Regions from separate parts of the Homo sapiens genome. Here region 2 is linked to region 1. The links are contacts of gene promoters, found by promoter capture Hi-C in blood cells and fetal thymus (Javierre and others, 2016). All regions are on one chromosome and are shown on one strand. The core of a region is centred on a gene start or on the middle of the fragment in contact, and the rest is flanking DNA. Distances in the headings are between cores, read along the strand shown.

Region 1 (7,488 bases), core at 4,196-6,695:
ACTCGCCTCTGCCTAGCCAGACGTCTCTTTGTCCCTGGTCCTGGTCCATCACACAGCTTCAGGGAACCTTGGGGATCATCTGCAAGTAGACCAGAGCCCTGTTCCTCGGAGTCCATTCTTAAAGCAGACACAAATGTTGGGAGAAAAAAAAAAGCAAGAAAGGGAGGGAGTGTTGTATTTCATCAAAGTTAAGGAAGGTGTCAACTGGAAGATCCATATGAATTTTTCTTTTTTTTTTTTTTTTGAGACAAAGTCTCACTTTGTTGCCCCAGCTGGAGTGCAGTGGTGCAATCTCGATCTCGGCTCACTGCAAACTCCACCTCCCAGGATCAAGCAATTTTCCTGCCTTAGTCTCCCAAGTAGCTGGGATTATAGGCGCCCACCACCACACCTGGCTAATTTTTGTGTCTTTCATAGAGACAGGGTTTCACCATGTTGGCCAGGCTGGTCTCGAACTCCTGACCTCAAGTGATCCTCCCACCTCAGCTTCTCAAAGTGCTGGGATTACAGGCGTGAGCCACTGTGCCTGGCCTCCACCTGATTTCTCCCACTGAGAGAAAAATTGCTGCCAACCAATCTCTGAAACAAGTGTTTCTTTTCATCAACGGAAGGACACGTCTTAATTTCAGAAGTGTTCAAATGTGAGTGCTGGAGAGGGGAGTACCTCTTAGAACTGGTGAAGCTCAACTTCCAGGGTGCCCAGTGACTGCGAATCCAGAGCCTTGGGCCAGAGGCTGGTGCCACAGCAATGGTCCAGTCTTTCAGGCTGTCTGTGGTCCAACAGAAGCATCTCTCACCCCTGAAGGGCCAAGTTGGGAGGAAGGAGAAATCACCTTTCAAGATCAGAGAGCAGTGGGTGCCTTGGCAGAGCCTCCCCGGCTGCTGTGCCATGTGGTGGTGTGTTCCATGGCAATTCATCACCAGCACGCTGATAGGACGCAGCTGACATTGTTTATTACCCAGCTGTGTCACACCATACATTATGTATCACGTCATAGAAGGGAATTCAGCTGCTAATAGGCAGATGTTAGACACACCATACATCATCGCTGAAGAACAGGTGTAGTGTGTATCATCCAGTCGGAAATTTATCATTGAGGTTTCTGATCCTTGGGGAGTCCTGGAGCCCTGCGAAAGAATGTCTTCTCATCAAAATGCATATATGTATAAATACAAACGCAATCGCCGGGCACGGTGGCTCACGCCTATAATCCCAGCACTTTGGGAGGCTGAGGCGGGCAGATCACAAGGTCAGGAGTTCCAGCCCAGCCTGACCAACATGGAGAAACCCCGTCTCCACTAAAAATACAAAAATTAGCCGGGCATGGTGGCGTGCACCTGTAATCCCAGCTACTCAGGAGGCTGAGGCAGGAGAATCGCTTCAACCCAGGAGGCAGAGGTTGCAGTGAGCCGAGATTGCGCCATTGCACTCCAGCCTGGGCAACAGAGCGAGACTCCGTCTCAAAAAAAAAAAAAATACAAACACAATCTTGGGCACTGGGTTAAGAAATCCCTTTAAAGTAAAAGCTCCCAAACTATCCGTGGTATTGAACCAGTTTGGTTTTTATAGCTTCGCTGTCTGTCACTGTGCAGTGCATTTGTAAAATGCAGATTCCCGTGTGTGGACGTGATGTGCAGAGATGTCAAATGGGCATCAAGGTTCCTCCGGGCTTATTCTCGCTTCCTGGACCGACTTCTCTGCTGACTAGGAACACATAATTCACAAACAGCCGTGGTCCAGGGACCCCGCTCTAAGGAGCCTGGTCAAAGGCAAACTGTAACCAAGCAGCAAGGTCCCCAAATTGCCATTTACCTCAGCACATCCAGCCACATCTGGTATTTCTGTTTTGCACAAAGGCCTGTAGGTCACATGTCAGTCACTTCATTCCTACTGTAGGTGTACAATATCCACCCCCACTGCAGCCGTGACACAAAAGACAAAACGGCCACGCAGACGCACGCATGGGATTTCATACCCAAGGCCATGGGACACAGACCAGCCCATTGACATAGCCCAGAGATGCTGGCAGTTTCCATTCTTCTAACACTAGCTAGGAATGCGGCTCAGGAGGGTAATCACTGTTTTGTTTTCTTCTTTAGCTTAAAAATTATCCCAACCTTTGTTTGGTTTATTATTATTTTTTTAGACAGAGTCTCACTATGTTGCCCAGGCTGGAGTGCAATGGCATGATCTCAGCTCACTGCAACCTCTGCCTCCGAAGTTCAAACCATTCTCCTGCCTCAGCCTCCCAAGTAGCTGGGATTACAGGCGCCTGCCACCACGTCCAGCTAATTTTTGTATTTTTAGTAAAGACGATGTTTCACCATGTTGGCCAGGCTGGTCTCGAACTCCTGACCTCAAATGATCCGCCTGCCTCAGCCTCCCAAAGAGCTGGGATTACAGGCGTGAGCCACCGCACCCAGCCCCAACCCAGCCCCTGTTTTCATGTGCCTATAACAGCTAAGCCACAGAGGATGGAAAAACGGTCCTTCGGAGTCAGACTGTCACAGCTGCTTTCTCGTCACACTGTATTTGAAGCAGAGACATCCTGGGAGCCAGGGTCAGTCAGGAGCGAGAGGTCGAAAGACAGGAGACCCCTTGCCCTCCCCGGTTCTCCACTCCAGGGGACACTGAGGCTGCAGAGAATGAGTAACAGGAGAAAGCCTGGGAAGGACCCAGGAAGGTCCAAAGGCACCTGTCCCAGTGGATGAGTTTACAGTCCACTGCCAGCAGCAACCTTATTTCTAGAACCTCCTTCCCCCTTCTTGGAAAGTCAAGATGCTGGGTGGTGAGGTGACAATGTTGAGGAAATAATAAAATGGAAAGTCAGTTACGAAAATGTAAATAATAAAAACAAAAGGCGAGAAAGGGTAATAAACGCTGCTTTTCGGCTGCAAGCCTCTCTGAGGCTTTAGGTTACGTATATGTATATACTCTACCCAAGCATCTTTGGAATCGTCCCCAAACAACTATGGTATTTGTCTCAGCAGCTTCTGAGGTTGTCGACATATTTAGAACTAAAGTCACGCCCACTGATTCTTTCCTCTTGATGCTGACATGAGGACTGTTTGATGTGTGTGTTTCAGGACAAGGGCTCAAGCCTGGAACCTCGGCAGCACTTTAACACACTCGACGTGGGTGCCTCGGGCCTTAATACCAGTCATTCGCCATCGGCGTCCTCAAGAAGTTCCCACAAATCCTCGCACACAGCCATGTCAGAACCCACCTGTGAGTGCGAGTCCATGGATGGGGAGTGGGATGTCCACATCAGACCAGAGGGACAGCCCCACAGAGGGTCCCGGGCCCAAGTGGAATCAGGGCAGTCTGTGCCTCCGACAGAGGTTGCCGTGCAGTTTATACTCCTCCTTTCCTTTCCCAGACTTCCCGCCTCCTGATCACCTCTCCACACTCTGGTATCCATTCATTGCCAAGCAAAGACATTGAGTGGGTTGTGCACAGATCTGATCCCTTGACTGCTTTTAGTAATTCTGGGGAGGCGTCTGATCAGGCAGCTCATTGGACCAAGCAGCCGAAATGAAGTTTAGGGAGTGTTTGTGGTGTCTCCTACCTGCTCCCAGGCTGGGCTTCTGTGGTTCAGCTCAACCCTGCATGGTGGACTTCCTTTATCAGAGATCCCAAGCGAGCTCTTGTACTGTGCACACCACGGTCATGGGTCCCCTCTTCGGATGAGTACATGCTAAGTACATGGAAGTTAGAAGGTCATTCGTTGCTTTCTTACAGCCACTCCCACCAAGCTGATGGCAGAGGCCAGCACCCCGGCTTTGCCAAGATCAGCCACCCTGCCCCAAGAGTTACCTGTCCCCGGGCTCAGCCAGGCAGCCACCATGCCGGTAAGTGTGTGACCCCAAACTCCTCCACGGGTGTACGCTACAATGTGGTGGGGGCTGCAGAGCCAGGCGATGTGCTGCGTCTCCCCAGAGAATCCGTTTTACTTAGGGATTGAGAGTGTAGGGTGGCAGATGGGGGTGGGAAGTTAAGTAATTTAATTGGCAACTAATTTTAAACATTTGCATGACAAAATTAACATGGATGCATATCCATTAGAATACAAAATCCAAGTGAATTTTAAGGATTAAAGGCAAAACTGCAAACCCGGGGTCATACCCTCATACCCCCAGAGCCCCTGGGGCTACACAATTAGGATTCTTCTGTTTTGAATCCCCTTTCATGCTGGTGAAAATATTTGAGCAGCTCAGTGTCAACAAAAATGTACCTCTGCACATATCAGGTAGCGTCCCCAACATGTGCCAGATCCTTCCAGAACATCGGGATGTATGGCCCTGGCTATATGTAAAGTCACTGGCATGCACCACTCTGGTCATCTATTGCCAGGTAGCAAACTACACCTAACTTAGTGGCCTAAAGCAACCACATGTATGAAGTTCATGGAGTCTGGGTCAGGAATTCAGAAAGGGCATCATGGGGATGGCACTTCTCTGCTCCTTGGTGTCGGGGATCTCGTGGGCCTAGGCTATGGAATGCACCCACCAGATGGTGTCTGCACATGAATGTCCAGCAGCCGGGCTGGGTGGCTGAGGGCTGGGCTCAGCTGAGGCCATCCGTCATTGACTTGCATGGGCCTCTCAAGCCTTAGGCTTCTCCTGGCATGGTGGTGGACTCCAGGTTCCAAGAGGAGACACCTGGAGACGCAGGCAGGAACCATGCAGACCTCTGTGACCTAGCCACGGAAGTCATATAGTATCACCACTGCCATACCTCTTGGTCAAAGCAGCCCTGAGCTCACCCATGAAGAGGGATATAGACCTCCACTTCTAGACGGGAGAAGTACCCAGGAATTTTAGGGGCCACCTCCAGATAGTTGCCAAACCCCTCCCACCCACACTTCACTGTCACTTTGGAGATGGAGTGAACGTGCCACCTTCCTGCTTGCTGTCTCCATAAAGGCTGTGCACACCCTGCTTGAGAAGCTTGGGCGATGCGTTTTATTTTCAAGTAGAATGTGGCAAAGACCACTTACTTTCTCTCCAGCCACCTCCAGATGCGCTTGCAAGCTGTGCCTGCCATTCTTCCAGACTCTCCTGTCCAGTGTGACTCACTTTGCCAACAACGGAGGCCCAGAGTGCTTCTGTCTCCTCCCAGCTGCGCAGGGAAACAGAACCCAGACCAGCTTCTGGATCAGCCCTGTGCCTGGGATTTCTCACTGAAACAAGGTCTCCTGGTGTCATTTCCTCCCAATGCTGTCCTGGGTGACACTTTCCATTTGAGCTGCTTTTTTATATAGGCCCTAGCAACTAGGGGCCGTGTCGGAATAACTTCAGACGAGTCCTTTCACTGTTCTTTAAAAAAAAAAAAAACCACTAGAAAACCACTAGCCCGTGAAGCAGAGTGTTTCATTTCTTGTTACTATACATTGTCTCCCCCACCCACCCGAGTGATCAGGGAGCGCAGATGTGACTCAGCTCACTTCCCAGGAGTCTCTTAAAAGGTTCTGGGCAGAGGCTGGTGAAACTGCCCCAGTCCTCACTGCCTGGATGAGTTCATGGACAAACATGCATGGCGTGTCTGTCCATCTGCATTAGCGCTGAGCAGAAAAGATACGGACGCACAGCAGCTCATGGTAGCAGTCCACGCACGTCGTCCTGCTTGATGACACCGCTAAGAATTAATCCATTTGGGAGGAGAGCAACCAAATCCACCCAGGGCGGAGTCCAGGACAGCAGGCAAGGGAAGGGAAGTAGAGCTGAGCTACCAGGCTTGGGCAGGTAGCAGCAGCCTGGCAGAGCACACTGTGGTGGGGTGGAAGCCTGCACCAGTTGTGCAGGGGCTCTGCCCTTGTGCCCTGCGTAGGAAGCAGTGCAGCCAGGGAACAGACACCTATACTTTCTAGAACTCTTGACTTGGAGCTGTTCACCCCAGTGCGGAACGCAGAGAACCCACCGGACCAAGAGACCACATCCCTGTCCCCTGGAATGGCAGAAGCAGTGGTAACAAAGCCCCTTTCTCTCCCACAGGCCCCTCTGCCTTCCCCATCGTCCTGCGACCTCACACAGCAGCTCCTGCCTCAGACCGTTCTGCAGAGCACGCCCGCTCCCATGGCACAGGTGAGTCTGGGACCCAGGAAAGGGCAGCCCCTCTCAAGCCAGAAGTCCGCAGTGTGCTGCGCTGATGGTCTTGTACACTTAGGTCCCAACCAAGGCCCTGACGTGGGGGAATGTCCCTCCCAATGTGTGTGTGGCCTGTGTCGAGCCATGAGGTTCCCCCCACACCCACCCTCTCGTCTCCAAGTTCTTTTTTCCAGTGTCTGGGGTTTTCTTTTTTTAAATTTCAGTAGTTTTGAGGGAACAGGTGGTGTTTGATTGTATGGATAAGTTCTTTAGGGGTGATTTCTGAGATTTGTGTACCTGTCACCCGAGCAGTGTACACTGTACCCAATATGTAGTCCTTTATGCCTCACATCCCCCCACCCTTGCCCCACCAGTCCCAAAGTCCATCATTTCATTCTTATGCCTTTGTGACCTCATAGTTTAGCTCCCACTTAGAAGTGAAAACATACGATATTTGGTTTTCCATTTCTGAGTTGCTTCATTTAGAATAATGACCTCCAGCTCCATCCAAGTTGCTGCAGAAGTCCAGAGTCTGTTTTTTTAATTCTTTTAACAGTCTCTGTTCACCTCTTTGCCACTTTTCCACATTCCTCTTGTTCTTTACGACTCCAAATTGGCCATGGTATTTTAGAAAAGGTCTGAATTGGGCTGCATGTCATAGAAAGACTGAAAGGATCTAAAAGCCGTGAGTCCAGCACTATAAATATCACATTTGTTTAAAAAAAAAGAAAGAAAGAAAGAAAGAAAGAAAAGAAAAGGATTACGGCTTTGCTGAGTAATTCCATCCTTGTTTCAACAACATTCGGTGAGTTACTATTTGGGTCAGTCAGTGAGCGAGGTGTTAGGGATGTAAAGATGTAAGTCAGCCCTTGCTTTTAGTTCTCAGAACTAAAGGGAGAGACAGGCATGTAAACAGAGACGCCGCCGTGGCAGGGCATGCGTTTTTATAGAACCGTGAAGGAAATATTCTACCCAGGGAAGTCTGACGTGGCTTCCTGGAGGAGGTGACGCTTGAGTTGGCCCCGGAAAGGTGGGTAGGAGGTTGCCAGATGGTTTGGCAGGGGGACAGCAGGGATGTGCTTCAGCAGGGAGTTCTGAACACGGGGAGTGACAAACCCTGCCCAGGCCTGAGCTCTGACTTCAGTTCCCTCATAGGAGACTTAGCTCTGCCCAGACCATGGCCACAGGCTAGAGCTGCGTCCCAGACGGCAGTTCAGCAGCAGGTGCCCCTCTCTGTCTTGGCACACATCTGTCACCACTGATGAAAACTATTTCGGAACATATGCCCTCTTAGTGGGGGTCTCTCATGCATTCCTGGAGTAAGACACATGCTAACGCGTGCTGCTTGCCAGAGTCAGGCTTGAAGATTGGTGTAAAAAAGCTACCCTTCTGGAATCTACT
Region 2 (6,530 bases), core at 358-2,857, 540 kb before region 1:
CACATTAAAAGAATAAAGGCAAGAACAGTGTGATTATTTCAACAGATGCAGAAGGCATTTGATAAAATTAAATACCCACTCGATAGAATTCTCAGCAAACTAGACATAGAGAAGAAAATGTTCATAATCTGATAAAAGGCACCTACAAACAAACAAAAATAAAACCCACAAATCTTATAGCTAACACTATATTTGTTGGATGAACAAGGCAAAGCAATACACTATCGCCATTTCTATTCAACATTATGCTGGAGGGATCTTAGTTTAGAGAGAAAGAATAAAACTATCTTTACAAACAGATGAAATGATTGAGTACAGAGAAAAACCAAACGATTAGATATATTAAGTCGTTTAATCCTCACAACAACGCTATAGCTGCAGAGAGATTTTCTGAGATTAATATTTTCCCTTCTTTAAATGTTTGGAAGACTTCACTAGGGAAGTTTGCTGCTGAAATTCTTTTGTGAGAAAGTACTTAATTACAGACTCAATTTTTTAAACAGATATAAGTCTATTCCAAATTTTTATTTTTTATTTAAGTTTTAATATGTGGTGCTTTGGAGAAAATTTTTCCATTTATCCAAGTGATATGGTTTGGCTCTGTGTCCCCACCCAAATCTCATCTTGAATTGTACTCCCGTAATTCCCACGGGTTGTGGGAGGGACCCAGTGGGAGATAATTGAATCATGGAGGTCATTTCCCCCATACTGTTCTCATGGTAGTGAATAACCTCGTGAGATCTGATGGTTTTATCAGACGTTTCCGCTTTTGCATCTTCCTCATTTTCTCTTGCCACCGACATGTAAGAAGAGCCTTTCGCCTCCCTCCATGATTCTGAAGCCTCTCCAGCCATGTGGAACTGTAAGTCCAATTACACCTCTTTTTCTTCCCAGTCTCTGGTATGTCTTTACCACCAGCATAAAAACAGGCTAATCCACCAAGTTTTCGAATTTATTTGCACAAAGTTATCCATAATGTCTTACTATCTTTTAAATTATCTGTCAAATCTGGATTGAGGTTTCCCTTCTCATTCCTGACATTCACCATTTGTGTTTTCTCTTTTTTCTTGTCCAGTCTTGCTAAGATTTCTAATTTATTAATATTTTTTAAAATCCAACTTTTGGTTTTATTGATTTTCTCTGTTCCAGCCTATTTTATTAATTTCTGCTTTTATCTTTAATTCCTTCCACCTCATCCTTTTATTGCCTGTTCTTTTTGGTTTAGAAGCTTAGATTATTTATATCCAACCTTCTCTTTTCTGATATTTGTACTTAAAGCTCTAAATTTCCCTGTAAGTACTACTTTGGCTGTACCTCCTAACTTTTGATATATAAGGTCATCATTCAATGCTTGTTCTATTTAATTTGGCTCACTTTTTCTGTCAATGTCCAGTTATTGTTTCTCTTGTCTCGGGGAGTTCAGAAGTAGACAGCATAATTTTGCAAATGTCAGAGCAATATTCACATAGTTTCACAAATCGTTTTTCCTTATAATGTATCTAACAAAATATCTTTTGGCATTGAGTCCTGAAATGGTTTTGATCATGTTCTGATTCTTCCCTGCTTCTATAAAGTCTATGAGAAACAGCACCACAGAGTCTTTTAAAATATAAACTATTAGGCTGAGTGCAGTGTCTCACGCCTGTGATTCCAGTACTTTGGGAGGCCAAGGGGGGGTGGATCACTTGAGGTCAGGAGTTCGAGACCAGCCTGAGCAATATGGCAAAACTCCGTCTCTACTAAAATACAAAAATTAGCTGGGTGTGGTGGCATGTGCTGTAGTCCCCGCTACTTGAGAATCTGAAGTGGGAGGATCACCTGAGCCCAGGGAGGTCAAGAGTGCAGTGAACCATGACTGTGCCACTGCACTCTAGCCTGGGCAACGGTGTGAGACTCTGTCTCAAATTTGTGTGTGTGTGTCTGTGTGTCTCTGTGTGTGTGTGTGTGTGTGTGTGTGTGTGTAAGAGAAAGGGAGGAGACAGAGAACTAAGCTTTAATTTTTTTTAACATGCCCAAATTCCTACCTAAGGGGTCTGAGGAGTCACATCTTACAAACCATAAAGTCTCATCAGAGGGGTTTTTATTTTAAGCCTATAGAGCGAGGTCTGCATTCTAACCTGACTCTGGCATAACATCATATAACAAATAAGGCAAGAAGTCAAAACATTTTAACCCCAAATATGTTTCCTTGCCAAATCTTGAAATTGCCCTGCAAAGTTTTCTCTTGTGGGAAAAAAAATCGCATTCTATAGAGAATCCCCTTTCCCCTCTCTTTTTTCCTTCCTTGCTTTCCAGATCCAGGAAATCAGCTAAGAGCTAGGCACCCTTTTAGGTCCGATGAAACATTTAACAATCTAGGCCGGGTGCAGTGGCTTACGCCTGTAATCTCAGCACTTTGGGAGGCCGAGGCGGGCTGATCACGAGGTCAGGAGACAGAGACCATCCTGGCTAACATGGGGAAACCCCGTCTCTACTAAAAATACAAAAAATTAGCCCGGCGTGGTGGCAGGTGCCTGTAGTCCCAGCTACTCAGGAGGCTGAGGCAGGAGAATGGCGTGAACCGGGAGGCAGAGCTTGCAGTGAGCCAAGATTGCGCCACTGCACTCTAGCCTGGGCGACAGAGCAAGACTCCGTCTCAAAAAAAAAAAAAAAAGGAAAATCTTGATATTGCTCATGTAACCTTCAGAGTTCAATCAAAGAAGCACATGGCCACTGGGAATGATATAGAGTATGAGACCTATTACAGGGCTTTGCCCTATAATAAATCTCAGGAAAGAAAAGAAGAATGTAACAGGGCAGGCAGGGACAAGCTGGGACCCACAAGGAGGGACTCCCACCAGCATCTGCCTCCTCTCCCGCCTCCACACCTCAGACTTGGGTGATGCGTGTGACCAGAGGGAAAGGCTGGTGCCCTTTGCCACAGAGCTAAACATGTACCTGGCCCAGGAGGCAGAGAATCCCGAGGAGAAATTCAGCAGGACTGGAAGAGCTGTGGATCAGCTGCTGCCCCACACCGAGGTGTGCCCGCAAAGCCGCAGCACCGTTCATGGGCTGCACCCGCGCGCGACACCTGACTCACTACCGGTCTTCCTACTACTTCACTTCCAGCCTCACACACGTGCCTCCCATGGCCACACAGAAAGGGGAATTCTAGCCATACGGCTTAACTACTTTGCCCTGGTAAAAGCCACCGCAGTGCCTATTTACTACTGACCTGCTGGAGGATCATGGACAAAGTGACTTATCCTCTGTGGCTCCCCAAACCTCTCCACCGTAATCAGAAAACAGCACTAGCCCCTTCTTGCTGGGTACATATAGAGTAAAAAATGAGAAAGAACAGAAAAAATTTTAGGCGACTGTTTGTATTCATTTTGTACCATCATTTTAAGTTGTTTTACGTGCATTGGTTGTTCTCTGAAATAGGCCTGTGTGTGGATATGCTGCTTAATGTGAAGCCAACTATTAAAATAAAATGTTAAGATCCAGTAGAAAGAAGCATGTGTATGTGAGCCAAGAATAGCCCTTTAGGGTATGTAGCCATCCCTGAAGAGCAAGTGAATACCTTGGGACTTCCAACCATGGGAAAAGCGGGAAAACACTGATAATGTTTTATCATTGGTAAATATCCCAACAGGGAGAAAATAATGTCGTCTAGAGTTTCTAGCTGACATGCATCAGGAAAGACATTGTGTTGACATTTGACACAAAGAATGCGTAGGATCTGGGCAACAGGAGATGTGAAAAGAAGACATTTCAGGTGTAGAGAAAGGCAGGAGCAAGCATTGGAGTTGGGACAGTGTAGGGTTGATTGGGCTGGTGCCCTCAGATAAGAAGGGGAACAGTGAGCTGGGAAACAACGGTGAGAGAAAGCAAAGGGGGAAGAGCCCCTTATAAAACCATCAGATCTCATGAGAACTCACTCACTGTCACGAGAACAGCATGGGGGAAACAGCCCCCATGTTCCAATCACATGGGAAACAGTGATAATATTTCTCTTAACTATGTATGAAAACAGCAACTCACAACTCCCTCCTCTGTCAAGCTGTAAACATGGCAAGCAGATTCCCTTTCACAATAATCATGCCCACTGAACCCAAGTGTGACTTGTTATCATGTGTTGAGTGTCTACTGTGTGTCAGGTCCTGGGCCAAAAATTGTGGGATTTTTTTTGTTGTTGTTAATTTAGAGGGATATTTAAAAAATTTCCTTCTTTATAGATTTCTAATTTCATCCCATTGTAGCCAGAGAAGGTACTTTGTAGGATATCTGTTTTTAAAATCTGTTGAAACTTAACTTGTTGCTTAAAATATGATCTGTCCTAGAAAATATCCTGTGTGCATTTGAGAAGAATGCGTGCTCTGTAACGGTAGGGGCTCTGAATATGTTTGTTTTATCTAGTTGGTTTATTGTGTTGCTCACGTCCTCATGGGCCCCACTCAGACCTAATCTACAGGTTCAACAAAATCTGCAAGTAATTTATGTGCACATTATATTTTGAGAAGTAATATTCTATATATAATACTATCCTACACCACAAAATAAGGTTGGGAGGTCAGATACTCTTCTATTCAAATTAGACACTGATTTTTTTCTGGGCTTGATCAGAAGGTGATCTAATTGATAGTCCTTATTTAATTTAAGCTTTGCCTGGTGTAAGCTTCCAGGATCTAGTTCCCATGCATGCTTGGAGTAGCATACCTGTTACATAGTTTGAAGTTATATGTTTGAAACTTCCAGTGGACATGCCAAAAACACAGTGATTGTACCTTCCTCGAGAGAGATGTCTCTGATCTTTTTCTTACTCTCTAATCTGATGGATTTTCTAAAAGCTTGCAAATGAAACAGGGTACTATCAAAACATATGGTCAAATTTTAAAAAGCATAACTGTAAATTATTCAAACCACCCTCTCTCCAGTCCAATCTCAAACTGCTAAGAATGTCTGCATTTTAAAAGAGAAGCTTGGAAATGAAATGATTGAAGGAGGCCTTCCTGTGGATATGCTGCTTGATGTGACTCTATCTGTGGTAGGTAGATGATCTATTGGAGCAAATGTTTTTGGAGAAGATGGATACATATTCCTCTTGTCCTTAGCTTTCCTCCATTAGCTCCAATCTCCACATTTTATCAGCCATCAGATCAGCAACTGGCATCTTTCAAAGTTCACAGTGGCAGCCTAGGAATAGAAGGGCTTTCAGTTTATGGAATCATTACCTGAGGAAAGGCCTTTCAAAGGTAACCAAAATAGATCATGCTGATTTTGACATAAGGAGCACATTTCAAACGAATATTTTCACAGTCGTCCTGACTAACTCACCCTTCCAGCCTCATTTCCCAGCTCAGTGTTGCCTTTCTTATCTGAGGACACCAGCCTGACCAAACCCTACACTGTCCCAACTCCAACACTTGCTCCTGCCTCTCTCTACATCTGAAATGTCTTTTCATCATACCTTCTCTTGCCTAGATCCTACCCATTCTTTGTGTCAAATGTCAACACAATGTCTTTCCTGATGCATGTCAGCTAGAAACTCTAGGCGACATTATTTTCTCCCAGTTGGGACACTTACCACTATCTTGACATCATATTTGTCTTAGAACTTCCCTCCCCTAGTCGACTGTGAATTACTTGAGGGCAAAATCCTTGTCTAATTCATCTCTGTATCCCCACAAATGCCTAACACAATACCTGCCTCGCCAGCCCTCAATAAATAGTTTCATCCTTCCTTCATGGCTAATGATATCCAATACTTTTTATGTGCTTAATTGGCATCTGTAGTAGTCTTTTCCTTTTTCTCATGTTCTAATTGAAATTTTTGTTTATTATTGGGTTTTGAGAGTTCTTTATATATTCTAGATATTAGTCCTTGATATGGTTTGGCTGTACGTCCCCATTCAAATCTCATCTCAAACTGTAATCACCATGTGTGGTGGGAATGAGGTGGTTGGATCATGGGGGCGGTTTTCCCCATGCTGTTCTCATGATAGTGAGTGAGTTTTCATGAGATCTGATGGTTTTACAAGGGGCTCTTCTCTGTTCGCTCCTCACTCTTCTCTCTCCTGCCACCATATGGAGAAGGTCCTTGGTTCCCCTTTGCCTTCTGCCATGATGGTAAGTTTCCTGAGGCCTCCTAGCCATGTGGAACTGTGAGTCAGTTAAACCTCTTTTATTTATAAATTACCCAGTCTCAGGTATTTTTTATAGCAGTGTGAAAATGGACTAACAGTCCTGTATCAGATATGCGGTTTACAAATATTTTCCTCTAGTCTGTTAACTTGCCTTTTTATTCTCTTTGCAAGGTGTTTAGTAGAGCAAAAGTCTTTACTTTTGATGAAATCCAGTTTTATCAGTTTTTCTTTTTAGGACTCATGGTTTCAGTTTCAAGTATAAGAATTCTTTGCCTAGCTTTAGCCCTTGAATATTTTCTCTGATTTCTTTCTTCTAAATGTTTTATAGGTTTACATTTTACATTTAGATCCAGGACCTGATTTGAGTTCGCTTTTGGGTAAGGAATGAGACTTAGACTGATGGTC

Evidence for each region. The method cuts DNA at HindIII sites, captures the fragments that hold promoters and counts their contacts. A CHiCAGO score of 5 or more calls a contact.
Region 2: a fragment that was not itself captured here is called in contact with the fragment with the promoter of NPAS2-AS1 in region 1 in 1 of 17 cell types (total CD8 T cells); the score reaches 5.1 in total CD8 T cells.

What each region holds. Positions count from the first base shown.
Region 1 is chr2:100,971,716-100,979,203 of GRCh38, forward strand. NPAS2-AS1 (NPAS2 antisense RNA 1) reads right to left here and starts at 5,446. Exons shown (of 3, transcript NR_110213.1): 1 at 5,001-5,446; 2 at 3,570-3,698; 3 at 933-1,128. NPAS2 (neuronal PAS domain protein 2) reads left to right here. Exons shown (of 21, transcript NM_002518.4): 13 at 3,088-3,229; 14 at 3,743-3,852; 15 at 5,995-6,084. The HindIII fragment of the contact is 3,647 bases long and covers 4,949-7,488 here.
Region 2 is chr2:100,437,177-100,443,706 of GRCh38, forward strand. No RefSeq gene overlaps it. Among named protein-coding and RNA genes, the nearest start is that of CHST10, 23 kb to the left of the region's middle. The HindIII fragment of the contact is 763 bases long and covers 1,227-1,989 here.